4 separate regions of the Homo sapiens genome follow, and regions 1, 3 and 4 are each linked to region 2. Evidence: promoter capture Hi-C in 16 types of primary human blood cells and fetal thymus (Javierre and others, 2016). All regions are on one chromosome and are shown on one strand. The core of a region is centred on a gene start or on the middle of the fragment in contact, and the rest is flanking DNA. Distances in the headings are between cores, read along the strand shown. Region 1 overlaps LINC01611 (long intergenic non-protein coding RNA 1611). Region 2 holds the start of TBX18 (T-box transcription factor 18). Region 3 overlaps LOC107986620 (a long non-coding RNA gene). Region 4 overlaps LINC01611 (long intergenic non-protein coding RNA 1611).

The links. Contacts are between HindIII fragments. The CHiCAGO score rates a contact against its expected background, and 5 or more counts as called.
Region 1: a fragment that was not itself captured here is called in contact with the fragment with the promoter of TBX18 in region 2 in 1 of 17 cell types (endothelial precursors); the score reaches 19.2 in endothelial precursors.
Region 3: a contact is called between a fragment that was not itself captured here and the fragment with the promoter of TBX18 in region 2, in 1 of 17 cell types (endothelial precursors). The highest score is 5.2, in endothelial precursors.
Region 4: a contact is called between a fragment that was not itself captured here and the fragment with the promoter of TBX18 in region 2, in 1 of 17 cell types (endothelial precursors). The highest score is 6.5, in endothelial precursors.

Annotation. Positions count from the first base shown.
Region 1 is chr6:84,418,254-84,422,738 of GRCh38, forward strand. LINC01611 (long intergenic non-protein coding RNA 1611) reads right to left here. Exons shown (of 5, transcript NR_132100.1): 5 at 2,775-2,989. All of the region lies in intron 1 of LOC107986620 (a long non-coding RNA gene), which reads left to right. Among named protein-coding and RNA genes, the nearest start is that of LINC01611, 54 kb to the right of the region's middle. The HindIII fragment of the contact is 4,212 bases long and covers 175-4,386 here.
Region 2 is chr6:84,762,126-84,766,012 of GRCh38, forward strand. It overlaps TBX18 (T-box transcription factor 18), which reads right to left and starts at 2,473. Exons shown (of 8, transcript NM_001080508.3): 1 at 1,765-2,473; 2 at 419-623. The coding sequence starts at 2,056. LOC124901353 (a long non-coding RNA gene) reads left to right here and starts at 216. Exons shown (of 2, transcript XR_007059666.1): 1 at 216-361. RefSeq lists enhancers at 1,206-1,790, 1,791-2,374, 2,386-2,680. The HindIII fragment of the contact is 3,607 bases long and covers 739-3,887 here.
Region 3 is chr6:84,490,869-84,494,950 of GRCh38, forward strand. All of the region lies in intron 2 of LOC107986620 (a long non-coding RNA gene), which reads left to right. Among named protein-coding and RNA genes, the nearest start is that of LINC01611, 18 kb to the left of the region's middle. The HindIII fragment of the contact is 1,690 bases long and covers 1,941-3,630 here.
Region 4 is chr6:84,434,502-84,438,655 of GRCh38, forward strand. The region is part of intron 4 of LINC01611 (long intergenic non-protein coding RNA 1611); the gene reads right to left. All of the region lies in intron 1 of LOC107986620 (a long non-coding RNA gene), which reads left to right. Among named protein-coding and RNA genes, the nearest start is that of LINC01611, 38 kb to the right of the region's middle. The HindIII fragment of the contact is 1,744 bases long and covers 1,546-3,289 here.

The sequences.
Region 1 (4,485 bases), core at 1,031-3,530, 340 kb before region 2:
TAATTCCAACTGTATACTTGAATGTGTATGAACAGAGAACCATTCACACAAACCGCATTTAAAAATTATTTTAAAGATGAAGCATATTGGCCTTAAGATTGAGATGGGGGACTCGAACCAGGATGTGTTTAGACTTATTGGATCCAAGTCAAGGTGGCCAGTTAACATTCTGGAAGCTTCACGTTCTCAGTTTTATGCCACTCAGCATGGCTCTGGTCAAGCCAGTTGTACCACGACTAGCTCTGCCTCTGGAACAAGCTGTTCAATCTCTCTTAGCCTTAGCTTCCTCATCTCTAAAATGGGGATAATAATACCTCCCTCATAGGGATTTTTGTGAAGATTAAATGTGATAATACGAATAAAGCCATTGAACAATGTATTAGATTTTTAGGGCTGCCATAACATTATCTCAAACTGAGTGACTTAAAACAACATAAATTTATTCTCTCACCATTCTGAGGCCAAGTCCAAAACGAAGATATGTATGGGCTGCACTCCCTCCAGAGGCTCTCAGGGAGAGCCTTTCTTTGCCTCCTCCAGCGTTTGCTGGTTTCAGGTGTCCCTTGGTTTGTGACTGATTAATGCCAATCTCTGTCTCTTGAAATGGCCTTCTCCTCAGTCTCCATCCCAAATCTCCCTCTATCTTCCACTTTTAAGGACACTTGTCTTTGAATTTAGGACCCTCGCGAAAGTTTAGGATCATCTCATCTTGAGATCCATAATTCAATCACACCTACAAAACTCTTTTTTTTTTTCCCAAATAAGGTCATATTCACAGGTTCTGAGGAGTAAGACATAAACATATCTTTTTTGGGGGAGGGGGTTGTCACAATTTAACCCAGAGCCTGGGAACAAACCCCTGCACCTTCTACCTCTATTGTCCTTGATTCAGACCATAAAATGTGGTCAATTTTGCAGTGATTAGCTCAGCAGTTCCCAATCCTGACTGTACATTAGGATCACCTGGGGTGTCTTTGAACCTCTCAGTACCCACCTGGGCTGCATTATAGACCAATTAGATCAGAATCTCTGAGAGTGGAACACAAAAATTGGTATGTTTTAAAGTTCCCCAGGTGATTCCAATGCACAGTCAAGGTTAGGAACTGTGGTACAAGGGCTCAATTGAAGGCCAGTCCATAGAAGTCCTGGGTTTTCTGGATTAAACAAGAATCTTTGGGTTTTACCTGTTCAATGTACCAAGACTTTTGGGGTACAGAAACAGAAATTTATTGTTTTATCAGCACACCTATGCAAATCATGGTCCTTGACTTCTGCACACCATTTTTGCTTGTGCTGTATGCTAACTCTCATTATCTGTAGGAGTGAAATTTAGTAGAAGGATTTAAGGCAGGACTAGATAGGAAATTTAGGAGACAAGCTCCAATTTCAGTGACATTGTTGATCCCAGAGGACTCTGTCTAGTGGGGCTTGATATGGATATAATATTTTGTTTCCAAATCTAAATCAAGCTAAGGCTCTGGGGCAGTACAAGAGACTGTGTAGTGCTGGAAAAATTCTTTTCTGACATTCCTAGGCATACCTTGCAAATAAAAACATCATACAATTCTTTTGCAGGAGGCTTTAGTGTGTTTACTAGAGTAGGTGATGTTTGTTGGGTTAGTCTGTCCAAGGTGTTGGCAAATTCTTTCAGTAGTTTTCTTTTAACACTGTTCCAGTCGCTGACCTTCTGCATGGATTATAGGTTTCTTTTTGAAGCAAAACTCCAGAAGAGACTTGGGAAGGAAACTTGCTCTTGTGCCACCTGACTCAGGAGGCCAGCATGTATCACAATCAAACACCACCACTATTCAAAGCTGCAGCACAATAGGTCCCCTGCACGTTAGGTTCAAAGTACTTTTCTACCTGGCGTGGCTATTCAGTCATCAAGTGGCAGATCCTCAAGAGGTCCCATTACTGATCCCTTCTGTACTGATAGCCTCACCTATGTCCCCTTTGAAAACATGATCCCAGAAACCAGCCTAAGACCTTCTTTTACAATAAAGAATGCACAGTTGATAAAGCAGATGAGGATGCCCATCTGAGGGCATCTTTCAAAACACAGTGTTAGGTCGAAGCAATAAAGCTCCAAATTATAACACTTGGGCATTAGCCTGATTTTGAGACATATTTTGAGATAACAGAATGATGGGTCTAATGCTTTGAAATTAAACAACATTTGTCCACCCACTTTTCCTACATATTAGCCTAGACTCAGGGCAGGCATTTTCAGAGCATCCATAGAATGCACTGGTTATTAGCTATCCACATGCACTCCATCATCTACAGCTTAAGAATCTCACAGGGTAAACTGGAATTAAGAGCACTGAAGTCTTCTTAGGAAAGGGATGTGGGTCTTGGGAAACTTGAGTCTTTTGGATAGGAAAAAGGTGGGAGTACATGATGACGTCTCTACAAATTACACCTTGGAGGAGACAGATTTCTCCTTCCAAGTGGCATTGAAAGGTCAGCAGATAACATGCAGAATAATTCGGTTTATACTTACCTGGGTAGTAATACTATATTTTAAAAACAACAACAAGAAGAAGAACAAGAGAAGGAATGTCACAGAAGTCAGGATAAAGGTTACTGTAGAGAAGAAGGGGCAGTAGAGAACTTCCAAAGTGGAGAGATGTCTTCTTTCTTAATCAGATGGTTACATGTGAGTTTATTTTATTATTATTCTTTACACAGTAAATACTTCCCTGTGTATGCTATATTCTGCAGTTTTTAAAAAGATAGCAGTGTTAAATTGGACTATAAAGTATAAAAAAGACTTTTTTTCACTTATTTCATATCTTTTATTTCGACAATGTGCTTGATTGGTACACTTATAAAACATTTGTTAAACGACAGTTCCATTAACATGTAATATCTTTTAAGATAAAAAGTTTTCATAATAATAAGGGAAATTCTCTTGAGGGGTGAGGACAGAGCAGAGCAAACAATGGCTCTGCTCATTAAAAATACTTTCTTCATACCATCACCATTCCTGAAAAAGAGAAATCCTGAGATAAGTAAAGTGGCAGTTCTGTTGACATAAAAGAAGTCGTTAGAAGGGAGGGTGGGACGGGCAGAAAACTGCCATGTAACTACTCTTCCTATCCACTTTTCCAAGTGCTTTCCTGGGAAGTTTTCCACTGTTTGACTTTTTATTTTCTTTACGGAATTTATATCTCCTCACCTAATGTTGCTGGTTTTCACCCCAATTATACCTGTAAAAGCCATTTGTGAAGTCACCTGGAAGATTTTTGACAGAAAGGGGGTGTGTAGATCTGGAAATGCTAGATGGGGCCCCTGCATCTGACTCCTTGTCCCAATTCTTTTCCTTGGGAATTGCCTGAAGAAATGCCTCTACTGGGGCTTGTTACATTTGTAAATGAATTTTTTTCCATTGTGTGTGGGAGTCTTGAGAACTTACTAATATTGAAACAGGTAACAACAATTTAAACATTTTTAAAAGTTGATGCAAACAAATAGCCTTAAGAGTTAACATTATTAACACATTTCTATTCCGCTAATGTGGTATGAAACTGACACACAGAATTTTCAATTGTATTATTCCATGTTACCCTAAAAAACAATTTTGGAATGAACTCAAGAAAGGTAATGTTCTTTTTACTTTAGATAAAAGAAATCACTGGGATAAAAATGGAAGGGATGTATAGCTGTTATAAAAGAAAGGTATTTAAGTCAAGCAAGAATTTAATTGCCATTTCACAGTGCCTTGCTTTTGTTCCTAATTTTCTAATCCTGTTCTGTACTGTTCCTTATTTTCTAATTTTCTAAGCTGATAACGACCCACACGTGCAAATTCTGGTTTAACACCCCAGAAAGTTTAATTGCATTTATTCTTGTTTACTGGTTTTGGCAATTTTAGCCAATCTTATGATCTTTTGCAAAGTAACAACGTAGAGACAGTATGAATGCTGATGGTAGATGTTGAAGCTGATAATTAAACCAGACTTTTTGTGAGAGGGAATTTTGTAGCCCAGGCTCACAAGCTCACAGACTTTCCTTGTTGTGAGATTATTTATTTACTCAGATCCCCACACATTTTGTGTTTTATCCTGGGGTTGGGCGGAGGCAGGCGTGGGGAAGCCTTTTCTAAAAGTCAGAGTACGAAATACTCAAAGGGATTCCTAAATTCAGCAATTACTCAACCACTGGTGCAGAGAAGGTAAGTTATTTAGAGTTGTTGATGTTTTAAATAAGCCGAGTGAAGGAAGCTCTTCAGGCGGACAAAGCGGAGAATATTGGGCCAAAGGGCCGAGCACACCCCTGCAGTGCCCTTCGCCCAGTCTACCATGGGGTGGCGCTCTAAGGCCCAGATTTGCCCGCCCTCGTCCTCCACGCGCTATTGCAAGCAGCAGAGAATGAACCCTCTCAAGCTTTCGTTCTTGTGTCTCTTTCTCATTGTACATGTAAAATATTTACATTGAAAACCCACTGACCGTCAGCAATGATGAAAATAACTAAGTAATTAGA
Region 2 (3,887 bases), core at 1,223-3,722:
CTGGAGTAAACTGCTGTTTAAAAATAAAAGAGAAAGGAAAAAAAAAAGAATGTTTCCTAGTTCCAGAACTGACAACTAGAGCCTAAATAAATACCTGGACAAGGGTAAATATGACCTCAAATTTATAACCGCCCTGAACGCAGAACATCAACCGCGACAGCTGTGGCATCAGCGGCGACAGTAATTTTCTCCCTGGCATTCAACCAGAGGGCAGTTGGACTGTGCACCGACTGCACTAGTGGTGGGTAGCCAAAGCTAGCCTCCAAAGTGAACCACGGTCTGGGGCCTGGTCCCGTTTGACCGAAAATGCTATCCAGAACCCCCACCGAGCTGCAGGCCCTTCTTCCTGATTGAGCTAGAGGTGAGTGAAGACAGGGTCTGGGGTAGGGAGGGGCGTCCACGCCAGCTTGCCCATTACCTGCCGGCCTTGGTGATGATCATCTCAGTGCCTATCTCATGAAAGCGCTTCCAGAGCTCGGCTCCCTGCAGATCCACCCGCGGGGCCTGCGGCGAGGGCAGAGGGGTCCCGGGCCGGGCCAGGGAGCGCGCCGGAGACCCCTTGGGGGAGCCTCCCGGTGACGCCAGAGGGGAAGCTCCCTGCTGGAAGCCGTCCTCACAGCCGCCTGGACAGCAAAGGACAGAGAAAGGGAACTGGTGAGGGAAACAGAGGGGAAGCCAGCCGCGGAGACGGGCCCACCTGGTGGCTGAGAAGAGGAAAATGACCGGGAGAAAAGGGGAAGCTTTGGTGCCATCAGGTCCTCCTAAAGAACAAGCCAGTCGATAGACACCCACATTCTGCCTGTCGAAGGGGCGCATTCAGAGCTCCAGTGTGGCCTGCTTGGTCCCCAAGTCCCAAGCCCGGGAGAGGCGCGCGGGCAGCGTCCACCCCACCCGCTGGGCCTCCGCAGGGCCAAGGCCCCAGCAGAAAAGGCTTCACGCCGCCGCCGGGGTCTGGGACGCTTGCCCGACGGAGTCAGAGGAGCTCCCGGGTCCAGAGTCCCCAGTGCAAACTCCGACGCAACCTGCGCCTCGAAGCGCAAGCAGCAAAAGCGCCCGGACTCTGGTCCCAAGAGCCTGGGCCTCCTTAAGCCATAAGCGTCTGCGGCGCCTCGCTTTGGGCCTTCTTTTGGGCCGGGCCGGAGGCATCTTCTAGAAGGCTCTTCAGACCCCGCTTTCGCCAAACTCCCGGCGCCCTGCGCTTCCAGCCCAGCAGAGAAAAGTGTGAAAAGCAAGCCCGCGGTCGCCGTCGGCCTTGGCAGAGAAATCAAGAGGAGAAGGGAAGGGAACCGCTCAACTACCCTTCGGGAAACCAAGTTTCCAAATATGCCGCCCTCTTCCTGGTTTGCACAAACGGTTTAGGGCATTCGTTCCGGTTTCAGGGTGGGGTATGCCGTCGCTCCCCTCCTCCCCGCCCTGTGCTTTTAAAAGTTAGGAAACAAAAAAGAGCACCCATTGGCTGGAACCCCAAGGGAGGCAGATGCAGGAAGCACAGAGCTGCACCGCTAGGCGCAGCAAACAGCCGCGGCCGAAGGCGCGGGTCGCCGAGTGGGCGGCGGCCGCCCGCGAGGCGAGCCTGGAAGCAGTATCTGAACCGTCTGGAGGGTGACCAGGTTGCGCGGCGAGCTTTGCGACTGACACGGCCAATGCGCTAGTGGCTGAGTGGCCTTGGCCATGTAGGGACGCGGCGCGCACGCACACCCACAGACTCGCAGAAGTTCAGGTTCGCGCCGGAGAGAAGTTATAGGCAGGAAGGGGCCCACTCACCCGCGGCTCCGCGCTCCAGGTCTGCGCCACTCCGAGCCGGCCCAGACGTCGCCCCAGCCGGCGGCGGGAGCGCAGCGCCTTCGTCTCCCTCAGAAGAACCCTTTTCGCCCGCGCCGCCGCCGCGGCTGCAGCCTCCGTCGTCCACGGCCCCCGCCGCCTCTTCGGCGCCCAGTTTTCGCCGCTTCTTCTGAAGCTGTTGCTGCTTCTCGGCGCCGATCAGCGCCTCCACCGAGAAAGCGTGCGCCTTGAGGCTTAGCATGCTGCACGGCGAGCCCCTTCGCTTCTCGGCCATCCCCCCCGCCCCGCGCCCGCCCGCCCCTCTCTCATATACACTCACGCGGGCACACGCGCGCTCTCGCTCTTCCCCCACCAAAAACTAAAAGGCTCTCGGGGCCTCCCGAGATCTGCCCCCTTCCCCACCGCGGGCAAAAAACAGATTTGGCGTTTCCGCTTTCTCGCTTGTGTTGGGATCCAGGAACCGGCGACGCGCCGGCCAAGTCTCCTTTCCTGGGTCTCTCTCGCGCGCTCTCTCACTGATGCACTCCTTTGCTCCCACCCCTTCCACCTCCTCCTGCTGCTCCGAGGTCTGCCTCAACTGATGCGCCAGAGAGGACTAACATGGGTAAAAAACACTCTGTGGACACAAATTAGGGATTGTAATTGAAATTTGTTGCCTTGATCTGTCAGCACTTCCAGGCAGGAGAGCGGTGGGAAGAACTTGCTCATTAGTGTCAATAAAGCGGCGGGGGCGGAGCCCGGGTCCCTGTCCATCACCCAGACGGCCGGCCAATCAGGAGGCGCCGACTCCGCGCAGCCCGCGCCCACTTCCTTACAAGGTAGCGAAAAACCAGGAGTGAAAAGCGCCGCTGTCTGGCTTGGATGTGCCAGCCACACGGACGCTGAACTCTGTCTCTCTGACGTCCGTAGCTGAGTCCAGCCCCGTAGTCTCCAGCTTTCCTCACCAGGACCTGGAAAGGCGGAAGTTCCCGGCTTTAAACTAGACGTTCAACAAGTTAGAAAATCAGGAATCTTTCAAGGTTCCGTAAATTGCCGTCCCACTTCCGTATCGCTTAATGTTGCTACAACTCAGAATATTGGGAAGCTGGGAAGAATTCGCAGGCCCCTCCTTTCTCATTTAAATGTTCCTGCACTCAGTCTGCGCCAGATATGGCTTAGGCTTATTTAAACTTTACTCCGTGATTTTTTTCTTAGGGGATACCAGGTTAAGAAATATGTAAATCCTTTAGGAGTGCAAAATGTTACGTTAACGCTCAGTCCGTCATATAAATGTCAGAAAAAGCACGCCCTTTCCGCAGCCCACCTTTTCTTTCAAAGAGTGGTAGTTATTTTAAAACGTAGGTCATGGGATTTTCATTCTGTACGTCTTTAACGATATGGACAACTTTAAAACCCCTTAAAACTTCGCAAAATGAAATAAGTATGAAGACGCAATAAAATTCCCCATTTGAAAAACTTCTCTGTGATTTAAGTAAGTTTATATTTGTCCTACTGTTGACAATTTACAATCGTTACTTCAGGCTTTTAAGGAGTCCATTGATGTATTTAAAACAAATTTAATAAAATCAGTGCTTTTTAATTAAATGACACCAAACATATATATTTGTACAATTTGTTTTGTAGTTTCAACTCGACTTTTTGTTAGGATTAACAAATATATATATATATGTTTGGTATAAATAGAGCAAATCTCTTGTGGAATAAAATTAATCGTGCATATTACTCCATCTTTTGTATAAAATACACGGCAGGCCGGGCGCGGTGGCTCACGCCTGTATTCCCAGCACTTTGAGAGGCCTACGCGGGCGGATCACGAGGTCAAGAGATCGAGACCATCCTGGCCAACATGGTGAAACCCCCGTCTCTACTAAATAAATAAATAAATACAAATAGTAGCTGGGCGTGGTGGTGCACGCCTGTAGTCCCAGCTACTCGGGAGGCTGAGGCAGGAGAATCGCTTGAACTCGGGAGGCGGAGGTTGCAGTGAGCCCAGATCGCGCTACTGTACTCCAGCCTGGCGACGCAGCAAGACTCCGTCTCTGTCTCTCTCTCTGTCTCCATATGTGTGTGTGTGTATATATATATATATATATATGACAAAGGAA
Region 3 (4,082 bases), core at 1,536-4,035, 270 kb before region 2:
ACATGCTAACAAGCACTGAATTGTATACTTTAAAAGGGATAAATGAGAACTAAGAAAGTGCTTGGCACTGCCTGACAAATATTAAGTGCTTGCAAACTTTAGTTGTTGGTATTACCATTAATAGGAATAGATGATTATGTCATTAAGAATGGCAGAAAAATCTAAATTTTCTCTCTCTCTTTTTTTTTTTTTTTTTGAGACAGAGTCTCTGTCACCCAGACTGGAGTGCAATGGTGAGATATTGGCTCACTGCAACCTCTACCTCCTGGGTTCAAGCGATTCTCCTGCCTCAGCCTACCAAGTAGTTGGGATTACAGGCACCGACCACCATGCCTGGCTTATTTTTATATTTTTAGTAGAGATGGGGTTTCACCATGTTGGTCAGGCTGGTCTCGAACTCCTGACCTCAGGTGATCCACCTACCTCGGCCTCCCAAAGTGCTGGGATTACAGGTGTGAGCCACTGCATCCAGCCCTAAATTTTCTCTAGACGAGATAATTAAGAGTGTTTGACTGATAATGTGGGTCTCTGGAAGAGTAACCAGTTCCTGTGCCAAGTGGAACGAGAAGAAAAACATGATGTGCCACGCAGGCTATACTTGTCCAATGCTGATCCCAGCTTGCATTACACAGGTGAAGAAAAACTCATTGCTAAACAAATTAAACCCTAATTCTACACCCCTGGTGAAAGCCACAGAGAGTTGAACTTGTGAAAAGCAGCTTGATTACAAAGTAATGCCTTCTTTTCTGAAAATCTGTCGTGACTTTCAGTCAGGACTCATGGGGAAGACCCCTGATTTATTTCTCTTTCAAGAGCATCCATAACAGCCTGGCCCCTCAATGAACTCTGCTTTCAGCTGTCCTGAAGGGTGACGGCATGTCTCTCTGAGGTCTATCCACAGGGAAATTCCTCATGGGGTACACAGTCTAGATTTTAAATCAGAGCAGCTCAAACATACCATCTAAATTCAGTGCAAATTTCTCCAGCTACTTTCAGTACATTCCAAAGTTTAATACTATTTATTTATATTTAAAAAAGGCTTTTGTTTTTATTTAATATGACAGACAACAAGGACACTGCTGTGGAAGAAACTTCCATGTATATGTCTGAGGCTCCAGGAGTCCAGATGAATGTACTCAGAGAGTCAGTCCTCCTAAATTAGAGCAAAAGCTGAACAACCAGGCTGAAAAAATGGCCGTGTGTGTGTGTGTGTGTGTGTGTGTGTGTGTGTGTGTGCAAAGAAGGCGAAGAAGAAAATCTTGGCAGGAGAAAAATAGAAGGTAGGCCAGTCAGAAAGAGCTTCCTGAATGACTAGAGAGGAAAGAATCTGGATGGAGAAGCAGAAGCAGAAAAATTTAGGCTACTGGCAGTCATCTGCACAACAAGACTTCCCTCTGTTCTTCACATAATTGCTCTCCGCATGTAGGTAAAGTCACAGACATGGAGAAATCATTTTTCTGCATTCAGCACAACTCCCTTAAAGGTTTGTGACCACTGATGCTATTCCCAAGAAGGTCAAGGAAATTATGGGTGAAATCACTTTCCTCCAGCATCAGCTTCCTCAAGAAGGAAGTGCCAAAGTTTTTACTCTGGCAGAGAAACTCGTATTTCATAACATGGCCTTTATGCGGGAGTTTCTCTACCACTGTGATTATTAATATGTCTGTTTCATCTAAGGCTTAAAATTAGAACAACAGGCCTAATTAGGTTTGTTTACAATTCAGCATGTGTCAGCATGTGTAGGGCCCGAACAACACAGCATGTCCAACAGGAAGCGTGTGTGTGCAGGTCATCGCTGCTCTCCACCGAAATGGTCTCTCCGAGAGCGTCACCCATGGTGTGTTTGGACAGGAAAGCCCAGATAAATGAACACAGCATCAATGTTGCCAGTAATTCAGAAACGGAGATATCTGGAAGTGATAAAAACTGCAATTGATAAAAGCTTCTCTTGTTAAATTTAGGCCACACATACTCTACATAAAATATAGCACTTAGGAAATGATGTGTGTTGATAAAACCTGATGGAGTTGTTTTTCCAAATGTCTTCTCCCTGCTGGGAATTTCCCACTTCGGCAGGCTCTCTCGGGCCTCCCCAGTTGCTAGTCTCCTTCCATGACCTGACCTGGTGTTGTTTATATGGCTGTTTGCACATTTCTTAACAGCCTTTGCAAAGGGTCTTTAATGACTTTCACTCCTGGCAGCGCTTTGCTTCAGGCAGAGCTCCAAAGTCTGCCAGTGTTGTTGTGTTTATTTGTGCAGTGCCCTCCCCAGCTTCCCCTAACCCCCTCAGAGAGGGCCTGGAAAGCATGTTGCAGGTTAGATAGCTGTAGATGAGTTTTCAGACTTGGGCTGTAGCTGTTGGTAATGAAATATGGAAAGGCCATTTAAACAACTAGGAACTGTCCTCAGGTTCCCAGGCGGGCCCACTTAGAGTCCTGAACCTTAATATTTTAAGCCTGCTTGAAGAAGTAGCATTGTCAAGATCCCAACTCCAGTACTTACCAGTTGTGTGATGGAGAATAAGCTCACTATCTTTCTTGGGCTTTGGTTCCCTCATCTGCTAAATGAAGGGAGCAAAATAGATGACTGCCAAGGGCCAACCACCTCGAACAGGCTGAGCTCAGTGATTCCTACATAACCCTAAACAATGGGCTCACATTGGCTACACATTAGGAAAGATGGAAAATTTCCTTCTGCAGGTATCTTGAAGAATGACTAATATGATGGAAAAAGCATTGGACTCTGAGGCTAGATAGATATTTTAGAGTGTGAAGAAGATAATTAACAGTGAAATTATGTAATTCAAGCCATGAAAATGAAAATAAAATCTAGATTGTCCAGCATGATATTTTAACCTGGACTTCCCAGCTATCCCTTTCTACTTTGTGGAGATTATCGTAAAATATTGGGGAAGCCAAGAATTCACCATGAAACAAATGAGGCAGAGAAAGGCTAAGAAAGATATATTTGCATTCTACTTTTTCAAGAAAGACCAAGAATGTCTGAGTAGGCAGAGCAAGAATGGTAAAAAGAGGAGCCAGGGGTATGACAGGCCAGGTTCTATAAGAACATAACAGATGGGTGCTATAACTTCTGCAGCATTCTCACAGGACGACCAGGGCACTGCTGAAATCAACTGCATCCACACTAGCGAAATTCTGATACCAAAGGACACATCCTGCCTAGAAATAAAAATAAAGATATCAAAACAAGCATCATTTGTCCTTAAAGCAGGGTCAAAGTCTTCTGATTTTGAAGTAAGAGTAAGACATGTTGGAATCAGATGACATTTCAAAACACTGGTTATTGTGGGAAATGGATTTATGTATTTGAAAATTTCAGAACTGTTCAAAACAAACTAATGTAAATGTGAAAGTCTTTCCAGTCCACATAGCCATTGCTAGGGGAATATCTCCTCTGACATTGTATTTCTAAAATCCTCATGTTCTCACAATAGATTACCTTGGTGTAAATTTCTTAGAATGATGATTTCAAAGTTGCTAGTGACATTCTTTTCTCATGAACTTACATTCAGTTCCAAGCACATGTTTATTAAATGTCTACTGTTGTATTAAGCCTGGGGACACCAAAATGAAAAAGGTAGGAGTACTGTACATCTCTGTCTCCAAAAGCTTAAAGTTGAGAGACAGGGAATGCTAGATAAGTTTGCAGTGAAACAAAACTATAAGAGAGTAAATGTATGCATGAGTTTTTTTCCTAGATGAACCTCTTTTTATATAAATTAGGAAACACATGATCAAGCACTCTGAATGCTGTGCCTTACCACATATACTTGGGCTCTTGGTCCACCTGAGAAATGAAAGTAGTTTCCTTTAAACATTTTTCTGGCTGGTGTTTTTTACAGTGTTACCCAGGTTGATGATTCTTCAGGTAATTGGGTCTTACAGTTCCTTAAACTCCTTTCTTCTAGTGATCTTGTCCCTACTCCACCTTAATCTCTGTGTCGTCACCAACCTTGTCATTACCAAAAACTGCAACCCCTTCCTAACTTCTCCCCAGAAGGATTTATCACTGTTACAGATCATTGACTGCTGCATATATTCCAGGTGTCCCCTTTCTTT
Region 4 (4,154 bases), core at 1,168-3,667, 330 kb before region 2:
TATTATTAGCAGATTTTCTTTGTGAGTAAAAAGGTAGCTTCACTGTCTTCTCAACTTCAGCTGCATCCCAGCTGTGTTTATTAAACGGAGATTTCGTATTGTCTGGCCTTTTGTTTTCTGTTCCATCACTTTTCCCATCTGGCTTTCCCCCATATATCCTAGAGAACATATCCGTATTTTTACTGACAGTAGTGTGTATACACAGACAGACACACACACACGCACACACATGTATCTTTCCCTGATGATAGCAGTTAACATTCCTTTAAAAGCTTACATTTCACCTCTGTTCCCCTGTTCACATCTCAACTACATGAAATTGGGTGATTTGAAACAATTTAAGCAGCTTCTCACTCAAATATAATTTCTTATGACTTGTGATGGTTTTGAATTCTTGACAACCATTTTCTATGCCAGTAAGAGCCCCTGTAAAGGAAGGATTGTTAAGAATTACAAGCACAGAGGCAGTGCCTTAAAGAACAAAGAAGACATATTTTACTTCAAGAAGAATAAAATGGATTTTCACAGTCATTTGCCAAGATTTCCCTCCTTTCCCAGGTGGAAATAGGATGGCGGTGGAGAAAACATACCCCAACATTTGAGGGGAAATGCAGCCCAGGAGTTTTCCTTGGTTGGGCATTCTTTTTTTTTAGAAATGCAAAGATATTCACTTCCTAATTTTTCTGCCACTGTCATTAATGTTTGGAATCCTATTTTCTTTTAAGTTTCTCCAATTGAGAGGATAAATCACATTTTCTCTTTGTATATCATCCTGAAAGTCAAGTTTAGTCAAAGGTAAGGAAAGAACTTTGATTCATTTGTGCAAGCAAGATAGGTTTACACAAAATATTTCATGGAATTTTAAAATTATTGGTTTATCTTTCATTTTTCAGAATTATACAATCTTTCTTTAAAAGTTGTTGAATAGAAAATGGCCATGTATTTGTGAAAAGTTATATGAACAAATCTATTCCAAAAAATAACTATTAATTCCAAATTTAAACATATAATTTGTTTTTATTTTTACATTTGCAAATCACATAAAATAATAGTGGTCCTTAGTATAGTGCAGTGGTTAAGAGACTGAAAGCAGATGGTCTGGGTTCAAATCCTAGTCCTGCCACTTTTCAGTTGCTTTGTTTTGGACAGATTATTCAACCTTTCTGTGTCTCATGTTCCTTTTCTGAAAAAGAAGCTAGTAACAGTCCCTCCCCTACACGGTTGATTTAAGGATTAAATCAGTTAACCCAGGTTAATATCTTAGAACAATGGCTCACACAAAGTAATTTTCTGTCATTGTACATTGCTATTAGTAGTTATTGGTAGTTCTTCTTACAGCATTTATCAATCTGGTTGCATGGATTATATAGGTCAAGGGCATATATATATATATATATATATATATATATATATATATATATATATATATATATATGTCTGGCAAAAGAAAATTTCTGATCCAAGATGCATTTACTGAATACCAAGTATGTGTTCATCACTGTGAGACAGAGAGACAAATAACTTTCTTATTTAGAAATTAAAACAAGCTTTAGGTAGCTATAGATTTCCTGAATAATAGCAAATAAGGAAATAAAAATCCAAGAAGCAGAGCAAATGATAAAAATGTGTCTTTGTACACTTCTCAAAAGAAGATATTTATGTGGCCAAGAAATATGTAAAAAAGCTCATCATCACTGGTCATTAGAGAAATGCAAATCAAAACCACAATGAGATACCATCTCACGCCAGTTAGAATGGTGATTATTAAAAAGTGAGGAAACGACAGATGCTGGAGAGGATGTGGAGAAATAGGAATGCTTTTACACTGTTGGTGGGAGTGTAAATTAGTTCAATCATTGTGGAAGACAGTGTGGAGATTCCTCAAGGATATAGAACTAGAAATACCATTTGACCCAGCAATCCCATTATTGGGTATATACCCTAGGGATTATGAATCATGCTGCTATAAAGACACATGCACATGTATGTTTATTGCGGCACTATTTACAACAGCAAAGACTTGGAACCAAGCCAAATGCCCATCAATGATAGACTGGATAAAGAAACTGTGGCACATATATACCATGGAATACTATGCAGCCATAAAAAAGAATGAGTTCATGTCCTTTGCAGGGACATGGATGAAGCTGGAAGCCATCATTCTCAGCAAACTAACACAGGAACAGAAAACCAAACACCACTTGTTCTTACTTATAAGTGAGAGTTGAATAATGAGAACACATGGACACAGGGAGGGGAACATCACACACCGAGGCCTGTCAGGGGGTGGGGGCCAAGGGGAGGGAGAGCATTAGGATAAACACCTAATGCATGTAGGGCTTAAAACATAGATGATGGGTTGACAGGTGCAGCAAACTACCATGGCACATGTATACCTATGTAACAAACCTGCACATTCTGCGCACATATCCCAGAACTTAAAGTAAAATAAAAAAAAAAGGAAAAAAAAAGTGTCTTTGTAGACCAAAAACAAGAAAGCAACTAAATTATCCTGAAGAGTGAAAGAAATGAAACAAATACTGTGCTCATAACACTATCATTGGTTAGGCTAATAATATGAGCAAAAGCAGCACTTTAATTGGTAATAGGAGAAGTGAGCTATTTCGAAGAAATGCAAAAAGGCAAAGTGATAGAACAATATTCAGCAGAGAAATTTTTTTTTGAGGAGGGGGAAAGGGCTCTGTAGATAGAGAGCTTCATTTGGACAGACTTCTTTGGCTTGAGTTTAGAACTCTTCCTGCCATCTTTGACATATTTCAGATTTAACTGTCAGCCCTAAGCACTGCCCCTCTTGGTACAGGACTCTCCCTGACTCACCCATGCCTGTCTTTTAAGGAGGGGGACATCCCTAATGGAGTAGAAGCCGGGCTGCTAGTAGGTGGACTTGCTAATGGAAACTACTGTTTAGTGAGCAGAGTAGCAGAGAGCCAGTGGCAAAGAGAAGAGAAAGCAGCTTCCTTGGTTATAGAGAAGCACTGTGGGGTCCCATTTCAGGTTTCCATTTGTTCATCACTTTGTACCATATCATTTGCATTTGTTGAGCCTCAGTTTTCTCATACGTAAGATGTATATATTTAATCAAGAATCCTAAACTATTCAGCGTTCCCATTTCTGAAAATCCATCTTTAGAAATCAATTATCATATCAATGGCTGGCCTCTAGTCACTAAGGAAAGTCTAAGTATCTTCTGTTCATTTATGTTACAAATAATAACTGAATGCTGGCTGACTCCCAAGAATGTTACCAAAACTATCTGTGGAGAAGAGAAAGCTTAGTTTATTGCTAACCATGTTAGGATAGCAGTATGTAAGGCTCACTAGCATCTCAGAGAGATGGAGTCTCCTGTCACCCAGGCTGGAGTGCAGTGGCGCAATCTTGGCTTACTGCAACCTCCACCTCCTGGGTTCAAGCGATTCTCCTACCTCAGCCCCCTGAGTAGCTGGGATTACAGGTGCCCGCCATGACGCCTGGCTAATTTTTGTATTTTTAATAGAGACGGGGTTTTGCCATGTTGGCCAGGCTGGTCTCGAACTCTGACCTCAAGTGATCCACCCGCCTCAGCCTCCCAAAGTGCTGGGATTACAGGTGTGAGACACTGCGCCTGGCCAAAGTTGAAATCTTTATAGACTTTTTGAAGTCAGATTTAAGGTGAAGCTTTCAGTGTGGGAGGTGGAGGTTTGTTAGTACTGGATAAGGATTATAATATAGGCTTGGTGGATAGAGCAAGGAGAGGATTTTGAACCAAGAGGTTCAAACTGACAATTTGCCAGTCTTCCAGAGGTTTCTTACTGGAGCTATCACCATAGGCTCTTGATCCAATACCTACCTCTCCCTCTCAATGGCTGACCTGATTTTCTACTTTACTGGGACCAGGTCATCACTAGGCATATGTTCTTTAAATATTTTTTCTTCAACAAAAAGTCCTTGATTTCATCTATTCTTTCCTCTGCTCTTAGAGAAGAATGCATTCCTCCTTTTAAAACCCTATCTATACTATAGTCTTGTTCTTGTCCTCATAGCCATTCATCTATTACTTATCAGTTCCTATCATTCATCTATTACTTACCAGTTATCAAGTAATAGCCATTCATCTATTATTTATCAGTTTTTCCTCACATGCTAACCATCTCACT